5 separate regions of the Homo sapiens genome follow, and regions 2, 3, 4 and 5 are each linked to region 1. The links are contacts of gene promoters, found by promoter capture Hi-C in blood cells and fetal thymus (Javierre and others, 2016). All regions are on one chromosome and are shown on one strand. Each heading gives the region's core, a stretch centred on a gene start or on the middle of the fragment in contact. The rest is flanking DNA. Distances are from core to core; before and after follow the strand shown.

What was found. The method cuts DNA at HindIII sites, captures the fragments that hold promoters and counts their contacts. A CHiCAGO score of 5 or more calls a contact.
Region 2: a contact is called between a fragment that was not itself captured here and the fragment with the promoter of SPTLC1 in region 1, in 7 of 17 cell types (total CD8 T cells, naive CD4 T cells, naive CD8 T cells and 4 more). The highest score is 9.2, in total CD8 T cells.
Region 3: a contact is called between the fragment with the promoter of BICD2 here and the fragment with the promoter of SPTLC1 in region 1, in 1 of 17 cell types (naive CD8 T cells). The highest score is 6.3, in naive CD8 T cells.
Region 4: a contact is called between a fragment that was not itself captured here and the fragment with the promoter of SPTLC1 in region 1, in 1 of 17 cell types (naive CD8 T cells). The highest score is 5.2, in naive CD8 T cells.
Region 5: a contact is called between a fragment that was not itself captured here and the fragment with the promoter of SPTLC1 in region 1, in 3 of 17 cell types (fetal thymus, naive CD4 T cells and activated CD4 T cells). The highest score is 5.9, in fetal thymus.

What each region holds. Positions count from the first base shown.
Region 1 is chr9:92,113,883-92,116,798 of GRCh38, forward strand. It overlaps SPTLC1 (serine palmitoyltransferase long chain base subunit 1), which reads right to left and starts at 1,531. Exons shown (of 15, transcript NM_006415.4): 1 at 1,432-1,531. The coding sequence starts at 1,488. RefSeq lists an enhancer at 2,034-2,093. The HindIII fragment of the contact is 11,716 bases long and covers 1-2,916 here.
Region 2 is chr9:92,787,930-92,790,845 of GRCh38, forward strand. No RefSeq gene overlaps it. Among named protein-coding and RNA genes, the nearest start is that of BICD2, 25 kb to the left of the region's middle. The HindIII fragment of the contact is 159 bases long and covers 1,327-1,485 here.
Region 3 is chr9:92,763,295-92,766,210 of GRCh38, forward strand. It overlaps BICD2 (BICD cargo adaptor 2), which reads right to left and starts at 1,539. Exons shown (of 7, transcript NM_001003800.2): 1 at 1,211-1,539. The coding sequence starts at 1,450. RefSeq lists a silencer at 1,490-2,229. The HindIII fragment of the contact is 10,857 bases long and covers 1-2,916 here.
Region 4 is chr9:92,695,000-92,697,915 of GRCh38, forward strand. No RefSeq gene overlaps it. Among named protein-coding and RNA genes, the nearest start is that of IPPK, 26 kb to the left of the region's middle. The HindIII fragment of the contact is 2,525 bases long and covers 254-2,778 here.
Region 5 is chr9:92,658,007-92,660,922 of GRCh38, forward strand. IPPK (inositol-pentakisphosphate 2-kinase) reads right to left here. Exons shown (of 13, transcript NM_022755.6): 2 at 628-675. Among named protein-coding and RNA genes, the nearest start is that of IPPK, 11 kb to the right of the region's middle. The HindIII fragment of the contact is 2,093 bases long and covers 333-2,425 here.

The sequences.
Region 1 (2,916 bases), core at 281-2,780:
CTGCCTATTTGTTCACCGCACTATCCCTAGCATCTAGATCTGTGTGGTCCAATGTGGACAGTCACTAAGTTACACGTGGCTATTTAAGTTAAATTAAAAATTCAGTTGCAGCTGGGTGTGGTAGCTCATGCCTGTAATCCCAGCACTTTGGGAGGCCAAAGCAGGAGGATTACTTGAGGCCAGGAGTTCGAGGCCAGGCTGGGCAACACAGCAAGCCCCCGTCTCTATTAAAAAAAAAAAAAGATTAGTTGGGCATGGTGGTATGTGGTCCCAGCTACTCGGGAGTCTGAGGTGGGAGGATCGCTTGAGTCTGGGAGGTCAACGCAGCAGTGAGCTGATCGCACCACTGCACTCTAGCCTGGGCGACAGAGTGAAACCCTGTCTTTAAAAAATAAAATAAAATAAAATAAGTTCTTCAGTGCCCAATGAATAGCTCTGCAAGACAGCACGGGGACTCTCAGTTATTAAATGAATGAACACTAAGATTGACATTCTGGTTTCTTATTATCTTATGTATCTGAAATAACTAGGCTTCAAAAAACTCTTAACTATTCTTCCTTTAAAAGTCTACGGCCAGGTGCAGTGGCTCAAGCCTATAATCCCAGCACTTTGGGAGGCCAAGGCGGGCGGATCACCTGAGGTCGGGAGTTCGAGACCAGCCTGACCAACATGCAGAAACCCCGTCTCTAATAAAAATACAAAATTGGCCGGGCATGGTGGCACATGCCTGTAATCTCAGCTACCTGGGAAGCTGAGGCAGGAGAATCGCTTAAACCCGGGAGGCGGAGGTTGTAGTGAGCCGAGATCACGCCCTTGCACTCCAGCTTGAGCAACAAGTGCGAAACACCGTCTCAAAAAAAAAAAACAAAAATAAATAAATAAAAATCGACTAAACTAGTTGTATCTTTATAAGACAGAAAACTGATGTACGCAGAAGAATGACAAACTATTTTTTATTCACAAATCCTAAGTCACTTGATTTCTTTTCGACAAAAACAAACTCCAATTTATTACAATTTTATTCCCCAACGAACTGTACCGTAGTTCCAAAGAGCTGACTTCCTTAGGACCTTCCCAGACGAAGGTGTTCCACTCATTTTCACCACTCCGTTTTATCGTCCGTCTAAACTCTGGTTTTTGCAGACCTGTCTCCTGCGTCCCCTTACACGTGTTCCTTTCCGGAGCTTCCAGGGGACCCGGAGCATAAGAATTCAAACCGAGACCCTCAGTCCCAGCCCCCGCCCCCGCCCGTTCCTCCCTACACTCAACCGCTGGGACTAGAAGCTCCCGGCAGTCCTTCCAGCAAGAGGCACCGAGTCTGGGCGTGACCGAGCCAGTCCCGCCGAGGTCTCAGGCCACAAATCCACACGCGTCCTCCCACCCTCCCCGGGCCCGGGTGTGGTCGCGGACCGCTAATGGCGCGGAGCCCACCTCGTAAAGCGCCTGTACCATCTCCACCAGAACCCACTGCTCCGTGGCGGTCGCCATAGTTAGCCGCTTCCTTCCGGAAGGCGGGTCACAAGCGCGTCCCAAAAGTGCGCGTCGCTGCTCAGTGTCGTTATCACCTCCGCAGAGGGCGGGGCGGCGGAGCGCTGGGCACCGCCTACTCGCACTTGCGCACTGGTTGACAGGAGGCTGGACGGGGTCAGGTGGGATGCCGCAGTTTTTCCAAGAATTGTTTACCTTGTGTCCTATTACCCTCCCTGCTGGATTCAGGATGGAGAAAGTAGTAATGAACGGGCCTTACACTTGGTCATCAGCTGGGCGCAGAGAGTTAAAATGATTGCAATACGTTTACTTTATTTTTTTTTTTTTGAGACGGAGTTTCGCTTTTGTTGCCCAGGCTGTAGTGCAATGGCGTGATCTCGGTTCACCGCAACCTCCGCCTCCCGGGTTCAAGCGATTCTCCTGCCCCAGCCTCCCGAGTAGCCGGGATTACAGGCGTGGGCTACCACGCCTGGCTAATTTTGTATTTTTAGTAGAGACGGGGTTTCTCCATGTTGGTCAGGCTGGTCTCAAACTCCTGACCTCAGGTGATCCGCCTGCCTCGGCCTCCCAAAGTGCTGGGATTAGAGGCGTGAGCCACCGCGCCTGGCCAATACGTTTACGTTTAGTAGCATAAGTAATCCAGCAATGCATTATCATTAAGAAATGCATAATTATACACAAAAATAGCCAACCCATATAGCACTTCCTGTTTTGTCAGACATAGGCCAAGGCTTTGCAGGTATTAAATCATATAGCAGTTTGGTAAAGAACCTTTTAGAGCCTTCCAATGCATATGCAAACAGTATGCACGCGCACATACTTAATTGGATTGGATTTCTTAAATATAATTGAGATCATAGGGACAAGACTTTTCTACAACTTTTTTTAAATTTTTTTTCTAGCATTTTTTTCCTAATATATCTCATATTTAATGGCTGAAGACTTCCATGGAATAATTTATGTATATTCATCGTTCCATTTTATGTAAACGTTTCCCTATTGGTGAATACTTATGTTGTTCCCACCTTTCCCCTATTACAAATAATGCTGCCATAACTGTCGATGTTCCTTGTGTGTATATCTTTCTGTGCATGTTGGAGTTTTTCTGACCAGTTTTTTCAACATGGGATATATCTGAAGACTATGCACGTTATTAATTTTGATAAGTACTGCCAAAATGGCTCAACCAATTAAAATAATTTGGAAGTTTTTCTATGCTCTAGTCCATGATGGATATTATCAATCTTTTAAAAAAATTTGCCAGTTTAATGGAGATAAAATGATACCTCACTATCCTTTATTATTGATGCTTCTGGTTACTCATGAGGTTGTGCAGCTTCTTATATGTTTATTGGCATTTATAGACTGTATGAATCGCCAATTCATATTCTTAATCCATTTTTCTATTGGTTATTTTTGCCTTCTTAT
Region 2 (2,916 bases), core at 156-2,655, 670 kb after region 1:
TGGCTCACGCCTGTAATCCCAGCACTTTGGGAGGCCGAGGCGGGCGTATCATGAGGTCAGGAGATCGAGACCATCCTGGCTAACATGGTGAAACCCCGTCTCTACTAAAAATACAAAAAAAAAAAAAAAAGAAAAAAAATTAGCCGGGCATGGTGGCGGGTGCCTAGTCCCAGCTACTCGGGAGACTGAGGCAGGAGAATGGCATGAACCCAGGAGGCAGAGCTTGCAGTGAGCCGAGATCGCGCCACTGCACTCCAGCCTGGGCGACAGGGTGAGACTCCATCTGAAAAAAAAAAAAAAAAAGTCTATTGAGATCTAACTCTGAGCACAGTTTAAAAGTTATTTACAGTTTAAAAAATCTGGCAGCTTTAACATTTTTGTTTAAATGCTTAAAAACAGCAAGAAGGGAGTATCTAATTAGGATTTGATGTATCTTAGTATAGGAAATAAATTGTGAGTATTCTTAGGTTGTACAGTTATCTTTCTACAGATTAATATGTCCCATTTTCAACACATAATGTTTATAAAAGAATTATAGGCCAGGCGTGGTGGCTCACGCCTGTAATCCCAGCATTTTGGGAGGCCAAGATGGGTGGATCACGAGGTCAAGAGATCAAGACCATCCTGGCCAACATGGTGAAACCCCGTCTCTACTAAACATACAAAAATTAGCCAGCGTGGTGTTGCATGCCTGTAATCCCAGCTAGTGGGGAGGCTGAGGCAGGAGAATTGCTTGAACCCAGGAGGCAGAGGTTGCAGTGAGCCGAAATCGTGCCACTGCACTCCAGCCTGGAGACAGAGCAAGACTCTGTCTCAAGAAAAATAAAATAAAATAAAATAAAATAAAATAAAATAAAATAAAAAAGAATTACAAATACATTCTGTAAGAGTGTGCACCTGCTTCCTGAGATGCACTTTTAAATGATTTCTAATTTTTAATATTTCCATAAGCATGTTTCATGTAATGCACATATGGCTGACCTCACAGAAGTGGCTGACACATTACAGATGGCTTTGAAGTGGATCATGGTGGGGAAAAGTAAGACTTCATGCTGTATTATTTTAAAAGTCCATATAGTATGCTCACTTTTAAGCTAAAATAAAATGTAATGTTTTTGTGTGGGTGTTAATATGTGTAGCTGAAATATGATCTATTTTTGAAGACCACAGATATTTACAAAGAAAAACTAAAAGGAGCAGTCTTTGTACCATTTTAGGATGGTAGGTAGTGCTCTCTCTGTCTACCAGTGACAAGATTTTAAAATCATTTTTAGATTTTATGAGTTAACTTTCCTGTCTAGATTTTGGAAAGTAGAGAGAAAGTGAAGCTTCTAGATGGAAAGAAGCTGTCAAGTGGGCCACTTGCTGAATACTGAAAACAATGAGAAGGTACCATGTGGGCTAACACAAAATTCAATTCAGACACTGAACATATTAATAGGAAATTTTAGCAGAACTTGTGAGAAAGACAGTGTCTAAGTTGAAAGCTTGCCTAGTCTTTTCATTAAAGCCACTGAATGGCCTTAATGTTTTAAGTAGAAACGGGAGGATCCCTCACCTTCACTACATGTCATTCCATCTCCCAAAATTCAGATGTAAGACAACTTTAGGAGTTTACGTTTTTCCTATTAAGTAATGAAGTAAACTGTTAAGAGTTAAAGTCATCTTAGAATTTAGGTTTCATACTGGACTTTGCTCTCTTCCCTTCTCAGTCCCAGCCAGTCGAATTTGGTCTTCTGGGGTCAACCCAAACCTAGGTCAGATGGTGTAAACATGTGTCATCAGTTGAGGCTGCTATAACAAAATACCACATGCTGCGCTTAAACAAAAGAAATTTACTCCCTTGCAGTTCTGGAGGATGGAAGTTCAAGATCAAGGTGCCAGCAAGGTCGGGTTCTGGTGAGGGCTCTCTGCTTGGCTTGTAGTGGCAGCTTTCTCACTGTGTCTTCACAATGGGTTGAGTGAGAGAGAGCTCGGGCACCAGCATGCTAGCTCTCAGGTGTGTCGCTCTTCTTATAAGGACACTAATCCCCTCGTTTAAAAAAAAATCATTATTTATTTATTTAGTGAGACAGAGTCTCACTCTGTGTCCCGCTGGAGTGCAGTGGCATGATCTCAGCTCACCGCAACCTATGCCTCCTTGGCTCAAGCAATTCTTGTGCCTCAGCCTCCCAAGTAGCTGGAATTACAGGTGTGCACCACCACACCTGGCTAATTTTTGTTTTCTGTTTTTTTTTTGATAGAGTCTCTCTCTGTTGCCCAGGCTGGAGCACAGTGGCATGATCTAGCCTCACTGCAAGCTCCACCTCTGGGGTTCACACCACACTCCTGCCTCAGCCTCCCGAGTAGCTAGGACTACAGGTGCCTGCCACCATGCCCGACTAATTTTTTTGTATTTTTAGTAGAGATGGGGTTTCACTGTGTTAGCCAGGATGGTCTTGATCTCCTGACCTCTTGGTCCACCCACCTGGGCCTCCCAAAGTGCTGGGATTACAGGCTTGAGCCACTGTGCCCGGCCTGTATTTTTAGTAAAGACGGGATTTTGCCATGTTGGCCAGGCTGGTCTCAAACTCCTGGCCTCAAGTGATCCACCCACCTCTGTCTCCCAAAGTGCTGGGATTACAGGTGTGAACCTCCACATCATCATTAAGGCCCTACTCTCACGATCTCAATGGTTGATGGGTTGATGTAATTAAGGTGAAAATATGGAAGAAAATAGGAATTTTGAATGGACTTTATGTGAAGTGGTTGCACCTCCTTTACCTGAATGTGTTAACAGGATGGGTATTATGTCCGACTGGGGAACAGGTCTGTATCTAGTATTGTGAAGCAGAAGGCACGGACGTTTGCCCTTTGGCCCATATTAATTGGACACGCTAAATGGGAACCCACGGGCCTGAGCCCAGACAGGTTGTT
Region 3 (2,916 bases), core at 289-2,788, 650 kb after region 1:
TGACTGGGAGCAGAGGTGCCAGGTGATAAGCCTGGAAACCAAGAGCCAAGGGCTCACCAGGACACACTCAAGTGGGGGAAGGGAGCACACCACCAAGCTATACTCCTGACCGCACACCAGTCCTTTCCAAATACATGACCCTCACAACAATCCTTTCTGGGCACGCAGTACTGCACTCCCATTTTGCAGAGGGGGAAACTAAGACTCACGGAGGGCCTCTACCCAAAGCCACATCACTAGCAAGGGGCACAGCCTGGATCCAAACCCTGGTGTATCCTCCCAGAAAGCAATTCCTGCAAACAACGCTATGGAGTCAGGGAACGGGAGAAGAGAAGCTGGGGAAGGACTGTCCAAGACTCCCGCTGCCCTGCCGCCTGGAGACCCTCGACCAGCCTGGTGGTCTAACCTACTCTCCCCCCAGTGGGAATGACACAGACCACTGAGGTCTCCGTCCAAGAGGAACACAGCAAGCCACAGCGAGGGGAAGGGCCCGAGAAGCGGGGCTGGACAGGAAGTGGGCCAGGGAAGTCATGCTAGCTGGTGGGAGCGCAATCCCGGCCATGAGGACACAGCGCTGGGCCTGGGGCAAGGGTACTGGGGGACCCATGCCAGGGGCAACCTCCACGTGCAACCCCGAGCCCCTACTCACTTAGGCCGCTGTCCACGACCTTTCCCCACCTCGGAGGCACTCATGAAAGAAGCAGAAACGCTCCGAAAGTAGCTGCGCCCAGAGAGGGGAAGTGCTTTCTCTGAAGGTGACAGAGCCGCAGCCACCCAGACCCAGGCCCACCCTCGGCCTCTCCCAGCGGGTCACCAGCATCCGTGGCCTCAGCTCCCGGCTCAGCCACTGCCCTCCCAACCCCACCCCACACTCAGACACACCCGGAACAGCGACCACCGCAAAGCATCAGCCCTTACGAAGCCCCGCCCCGCCGGGGCCGCCCAGGTCCGCACAGAAGCAGGCGGGCAGCTGCAGGAGGCGACAAGGCGCCCGGACCCCTGCATTAGCGGCGTCTGCAACGGCCGCGGCACCGGCCTGCTAGCCAAGGCCGGGCCCACTCCCACATACTGCCCGTGCCCCCTCCGCCCCGGCGGCCCACCCCTGCCGGCCCCCGCTTGGCAAGCTGACCTTGGCCGCCCTGGTGCCAGGGACGACGCCCACAGGCCCCGGCGCCGGGCGGGGGTCGCAGGGCAGGGCGGCTCGGCTCACCTCCTTGAGCTGCTCCATCTCGCTGCGGATAGCCTCATAGTCCACCTCGAGCTCCTCGAACTGCAGCTTGAGCTGGTGCTTCTCCTCGAGCACCGCCAGCCCGTACTCGGCCGCCTGGATCTTCTCACGCGTGGTCTCGGCCAGCTCGTGGGACAGCCGCTTCACCTCGGCGCGCAGCCACTCCGGCTGCGCCTCCATCACCAGCCGCGCGTACTCCTCCTCCTCCGACGGCGCCGACATGGTGGCCGAGGGCTGAGCCGGCTCCCACTGAGGCTCTCGCAGGCCGGGCCCTCCTCAGCCGCCGCCGCTGCCGCCGCCGCCGCCGCCCTGCCCCGACGGCCGCCCGCCCGCCCGCGCCGCCGCACGGCTCCTCCCCTCCGGCGCGCGGGGCCCGCTGGGGGCTGGAGTCCTGCCTGCGCTCCGACCACAAGGTCCATCATGCCCGGCGCCCGCCCGGCCCCCGGCTATGATTGGCCCATGCTCTGTGAGGGGCGGGCCCTCGGGCGCAGCCACTGACGCCAATGTGGCCCAGGGGGCTGTGGGGACAGTAGTCCCGCTAGCGCACCGACTACAAAACCCGTCCAGCCCCGCGCCCACCCGTCCCCGTCCGTGATTGGCCTGCGCCGCCAGCGTCGAGCCGGATGTACCGGCGCCTTGCAGTCCCCTGGACGGCGGTCGAGTGGGCGCGGCCCCGCGGCCTTCCCCACACTCAGAGCCGGGGACACTGCTCGGTCGCCGGGCCTCGCGCTCCCCTGTGCCTCTGGCAGCCGGCGGCCACGCGGGGTGGCAAGACGGCTGCCGGGAGAACCCCCAGGGGGAGGCGGGTGCGGGGCGGCAGGACTGGGCTCCCGACCGTGGGACGAACAACGCGGACAGAGCCCGGGAGGCCACGAGCTAGAAGCGCATCCGAGAGCGCGGGTGAACGGCTGCTGCTGGAAACCCGTGGACGGTGTGACGCATGCTCTGTGCAGACGTCTGGGGGCGGGAGGAGGACGGGCCAGCAGGGGGCGCCCAGGGGCCAGCGGGAACCTCAGCACCGCCCCTCAGTCCTTCAAGGTCTATTTCTTGGGAATAAAGACATTTCCATTAATACAGGGTCATAAACGTGGTAAATATAATTGTTGTCTCCGCATCTATTTTTAGGCCTGACTTAAGTTGTTTGAAAGCCAGTCGTACCCTTCGCCTTGGCGTAGGTAACACTTCTCCGTATATGGTGGTGTGTGAGATAACTCGTTTATTCTTTATCTCATTGACCTAAAGCGCAACACACCCCACAGCCGCTGACCGCCATAGCACCTAATGGCCAGTATCAGTGCAGATGAGTTCACCCTTCCCTCGTATTTTCTTTAGCCAGTCCACAGGCCCCAAGGGAAATCCTAAAGGATGATTTCCATGGACCCTAGCACAGCCATAGTCCCTTCCTTCCCACCGTCTCTCACTGCCCCTCTCCATCTGCTTGTCCGCCTCTCTTAGGCATCCCTAACCTCTCCGGAACCTAAGAATAATAAATTCCTTCTGTTTTGTACCTTTTAATTTTACTTTCTCATTGTATCTCACCTGAACCCCACACCCATTCGGTTCTCCTAGAGAGTGGCTATCTTGGCTTATGGTCACTCTCCCTCAAGACCAAATTAGAAAGAAGCCATGACAGCAGAAATCACAGCACACAGGGTACTGACACTATCTAATGCACAGTCCACACTCTA
Region 4 (2,916 bases), core at 266-2,765, 580 kb after region 1:
GCTTCCAGCTTTTGCCTGTTCAGTATGATGTTGGCTGTGTGTTTGTGATAGATGGCTCTTATTAATTTGAGGTATGTTCCTTCAATACCTAGTTTGTGGAGGGCTTTTAACATGAAAGGATGTCGAATTTTTTCAAAAGCCTTTTCTGCATCTATTGAGATGATAATGGGGTTTTTGTTTTCAGTTCTGTTTATGTGAGAAATCACATTTATTTAATTGTATATGTTGAACCAACCTTGCATCCCAGGAATAAAGCTTACTTGGTCATAGTGGATTAGCTCTTAAATGTGCTGCTGGATTCAATTTGCTAGTGTTCTGCTGAGGATTTTTGCATCTAATTTTATCAGGGATATTAGCTTAAAGTTTTATTTTTTTCACCAGGTTTTGGTATCAGAATGATTCCGGCCTCATAGAATAAATCAGGGAGGAGGTCTGTCTCCTCAATTTTTTAGAATTGTTTCAGTAGGATTTGTACCAGCTATTCTTTACATGTCTGGTAGAATTCAGCTGTGAATCCATCTGGTCCAGGGCTTTTTCTGGTTGGTAGGTTTTTGTTGTTGTTGTTGTTGTTGTTACTATTGATTCAATTTTGGAACTTGTTATTGGTCTGTTCAAGTATTCAATTTCTTCCTGGTTCAATATTGGTAAGTTGAATGTTTACAGCAATTTATCCATTTCTTCTAGGTTTTCTAGTTTGTGTGCATAGAGATGTTCATAATACTTTCTGAGGGTTTCTTGTATTTCAGTGAGGCCAGTGGTAATGTCACCGTTGTCATTTCTGATTGTGTTTCTTTGGATCTTCTCTCTCTTTTTTTCTTTATCAGTCTAGCTAGAGGTCTATGAGTCTCATTTTTTTTTTCACCATAAACATATATCATTTTTATTTGACAATTAAAATAAGTTAATTAATTGATAATAATAATAAAATTGAGTATAGTAGCTCAGTCATTCACTCCTTGTACTTTTTGACTCTATCTTCTTCAGAGAGGACAAATTCAGCACTGTTCTTGGCTGTGAGATCAATAGCGCTCCACTGCAGGGAAGACCTATGGGTTACATGTCTGTCCACACCTGGGGTTTACTCTCTTTTTTTTTATTATACTTTAAGTTTTAGGGTACATGTGCACAACGTGCAGGTTAGTTACATATGTATACATGTGCCATGTTGGTGTGCTGCACCCATTAACTCGTTATTTAACATTAGGTATATCTCCTAATGCTATCCCTCCCCCCTCCCCCCACCCCACAACAGGCCCGGGTGTGTGATGTTCCCCTTCCTGTGTCCATGTGTTCTCATTGTTCAATTCCCACCTGTGAGTGAGAACATGCGGTGTTTGGTTTTTTGTCCTTGCGATAGTATTTCAAAGAACCAACTTTTGGTTTCATTGATCTTTTGTATGGGTTTTCACATGTCAACTTTGTTCAGTTCAGCTCTCATTTTAGTTATTTTTCTTCTGCTGGCTTTAGGGTTGGTTTGCTCTTGTTTTTCTAGTTCCTCTAAGTGTGATGTTAGGTTGTTAATTTGAGATCTTTCTGACTTTTTGATGTGGGTGCTCACAGCTATAAACTTTCCTCTTACCACTGCTTTAGCTGTGTCCCAGATATTCTGGTATGTTGCATCCTTGTTTTCAATAGTTTCAAAGAGTTTCTTGATTTCTGCTTTAATTTCATTCTTTACCCAAAGTCATTCAGGAGCCAGTGGTTTAATTTCCATATATGGTATTGAGAGATCTTCTTGTTTTTAATTTCTATTTTTATTGCACTGTGGTTGAGAGTGTGGTTGGTTTGTTTTTTTTTTAACTTGTTGAGAATTGCTTTATGGCTGAGTGTGCAGTCAATCTTAAGAGTATGTGCCATGTGTACATAAGAACAGAAAAACGTATATTCTGTTGTTGGGTGGAGCATTCTGTAGATGTCTGTCAGGTGCATTTGGTGAAGTGTTGAGTTTAGGTCCCAAATACCTTTATTAGTTTTCTGTCTCAATGTTCTGTCCAACACTGTCAGTAGGGTGTTGAAGTCCCCTACTATTATTATGTGGTTATTTAAGTCTCTTTGTAGGTCTCTAATAATTTGTTTTATGAATCTGGGTGCTCCAATTTGGGATGCATATATATTTAGGATAGTTGAATTGAACTCTTTATCATTAATGGAATGTCCTTCTTTGTCCTCTTTGAGCATTGTTGGTTTATATTTTGTCTGAAGTAAGAATAGTAACTCTTGTTCTTTTTCGTTTTCTCTTTGCTTCACAGATCTTTCTCCATTGCTTTACTTTGGGCTTATGAGTGTCATGCATATAAGATGGGTCTCTCTCTTTTTAAATTCTTTCACTATGTTGCCTAGGCTGGTCTTCAACTCTTGGGCTCAAGTGATCCTCCTGCTTTGTCCTCCTAAAGTGCTGGGATTAGAGATGTGAGCCACCACTCCTAGCCAAGAGATGGGTCTCTTGAAGACAGCATACAGTTGGGTCTTGCTTCTTTATCCAACTTGCCACTCTGTGCCTTTTAAGTGGGATGTTTTCTCATTTACATTCAAGGTTAATATTGATATGTGAGGATTTGATCCAGTCATGTTGTCAACTGGTTGTTACACAGACTTGATTGTATAGTTGCTTTATAGTGTCAGTGGACTATGTGTTTTTATGGTGGCAGGCAACAGTCTTTTGTTTTGTATTCCATATTTAGCACTCCCTTAAGGACCTCTTGTAAGGCAGTCTGGTAATAATGAATTTCCTTAGTGTTTGCTTGTGTAAAAAGGATTTTATTTATCCTTTGCTTATGAAGCTTAATTTAGCTGGATATGACATTCTTGGTTGGAATTTTGTTTCTTTAAGGATGCTGAATATATTTCCCCAATCTCTTCTTGTTTGTAAGGCTTCTGCTGAAAAGTCTACTATTAGCCTGATGGGGTTCCCGTTGT
Region 5 (2,916 bases), core at 129-2,628, 540 kb after region 1:
GTGTCCCCTCACAGGACCCACGCATCAGATGGGGAGCAGAGAAGGGCCCTGAATGCAGGAAGCCTCCGCGACTCGGTATGCACCCCAGGACCAACAGAGATTTGCACAGAAAGCTGCAACTCAGTGGTCAAAAAAGAGAGGGCAATGCTTTTTCACGGGTGGTCCATGGCATTTTGCTTGGATGACTCAGAGAAGAGAAACCTAACGACCCCCTCCCACCACAATGTTTAACACAGACTGTCTACCACCACACTGGAGACTCTATTTTCATAGACACAATTCCACAGATGGGGAAACTGAGGCAGCAGGTGCTATGGAACTCGGCAACGCAAAGCTTGCCTGATCCTGGGGTCCTCGCCACAAGCAGGGCCCTCTGAGCAGGACCTACAGGCCAGGCCAGGGCAGCTCCTGGCTGAGCGCCACATAGACTACCACAGTGACACATGGGTTAACGTGCTGGACCCAGTCAGTTTTATATCAGGAATGATGGACACACCACTTTCTGCACTGAATGCTTGTATCATCTTTGAATGCTACAACTAGCATCAATGTTTCTACATCGGAAAAAAAAATCAGAGTTTTCTTAAATAATTGTTGTAAGTCTGGGTGCAAACCCACCCATCTTACCTTCTTCCTATTTGGAGGAAACTTCAGAAACCGCAGCACGACGCAGCGCTGTTGGAAAATAAAACAAATCTGATTAGTATTTGCTCAAAGCCAAGGCACAAGGTGTCAGTCAGTTTGGGGGTCCCATCCTCAGTGGACAAAGTCCACAGTGAAGCTCCACAGCAAGGAGGCTGGGAAGCCCCCAGGGCAGGGAGGCCAGGGCTGGGACCCAGCAAGGGCACACTGGGCAGTGGGACAACCAAGAACCTTCAGCCTCTGACCAGCCAGCCCCTCCCAGGACTTTATCTTAAGGAAAGAAATAAAATGGAAATAACCTAAATGCCCAACAATAATGAGATGGTTTAAACACAGTGGCACACATTTCAGTGTGATTTATAAATCACACAGTCAGTGATTTATAAGAAAGATCAGTACTTACGGACACAGATTTGTGGTTATCACATACTGTTAAATGAAAAAAGTTACCGAATGGGGCTTACAGAATGAGCCTATTTTCATAAAAAGAGAAATACACGTGAGCACACACACGTATGGGTGTAATTCTATTTATATAAAGTTCAAAAAACAGGTAACACTGACCCCTTGTGCCCACCCCTTGGGCATGCATGAATAGTTGCTAAGGAAGGTTCTAGAAGGGACTGGTCAGAGGATTATGGGTCCACTTACTTTGTGATAATTAAGCTATACCCACGATCTGAGTACTTTTCTGCAGGTACGTTACACTTCAAGTTTTTAAAATAAAAATGTTTAAATAAAATAAGTATTGATGTGTCTACATCAAAAGGTCTGAAAGGACATTCGGCACAAGTTTAACATCTCCAAGTAGCAATGATTACAATAACTTCTTTTTAATTTATCTTTATTTTGAATATTTCAATTTTTTAAATGTTCAAAAAAATACATTCTAAGAACGTACATTATATGTAGGAGGAGAATGCGCCTGGGAGGGGCTCTAACGGCAGTGCAAAGGTGGGGGGTCCAATGCCCTGGGAAGCGCCCCTGCCGAGGCCACAGGGCAAAGCCTAAGCAGGAGGGAGGAAGCAGGCTGCACTAAAGACGGCTTAGAAAGGGCCATTTTCTAGATCAAAAGATGCCTAAGGAGCAACAAAGGCCCTATGGAGACCAAGCCAGACTCCCCCACCCGCTCCCCGCAGCCCTACTTAGACAATGTACGTCGTTGCTCTTAAATCCCAGGCACCCGGCCCCCTGGGCCCCTCTGACTGAGCTCCAGTTCCCAGCCAATGCCATGCTCCTGGCTCGCTGTGCTGCAGATAGCTGTCCCCTCCTTAAGCCCCAAGCTGAGACCTGGGGAAGCCAAGATCAATGGCATGCATGCTACCGCTGTCCCCTCCCAAGCTGAAGGCAGGCATCAACAATCAATCATGGGAATCGACTGGCTAAGGATCATTTTAATGGAACTATAATTCCACCAAAATTTAAGGAAAGGCAGAAGTTGATCGACAGAAGTCCTAACTCTAGACAGCTCCCCAGAAGTTCGTTCCCCTAAAAGTGCATTTGCTCCTCACCTACACATGATGGTGTGTGCTATTCGAGTGTGCCTGACCCGCCCTCCAACAATTAGGCATCAAACACAGTACAGCTCTCCACTGATGGCAAGCATTCAGTGATGCCCTGCTAGCGATGTGTAAGTGTGACTGAGGGTCATGCTTGAAAATCAACACAATAAGAAAATACATTACATGAAATCCCTGATCAGTGTAAACTGACCCAGGCTGCCATGGTGCAAGCTCTCACCCTGTCCCTCACACAGGGCAAACCCCGCCACCCACAGGGGCCAAGCTTACTCACCTGCCAGACTGCATGCACAGAGCTCTGCGGCATCTACAGGAAAGCAAGGCCTGTCTCGGTTTATCATGGAACTAACTCATAAGCTGCACAATGGACTTTTGTAGCAAAGCAGTCCTGATCAGGGTGATGCCAGGCCAAGACACATGAGCTTTCTCTCCACAGAAATTCCCCACTGTAGCCTCAGAGGAAGGAGTTCAGTGGGCCCATGAACAGAAATACCAACTACAAGAACACAGGACCCCCCTCCCCTGGCAGCATTCACCTGCTAATACAGACTCAGCTTTCTGAAGTTCCCTGCCCCTCTGTTGCCAGGAAAGGCGGGAACAACTGGTCTTTTCTGTTTATTTATAAATGGAAATTATAAATTTCCTATGCATTATTATTACACACAAAACCACTCACATAAAGTATAAGTTAATTCAGAAAGCCATTATCTGGCTTATGAAGAAAAAATTTTTAAAAATAAGTTGCACAGGGCAC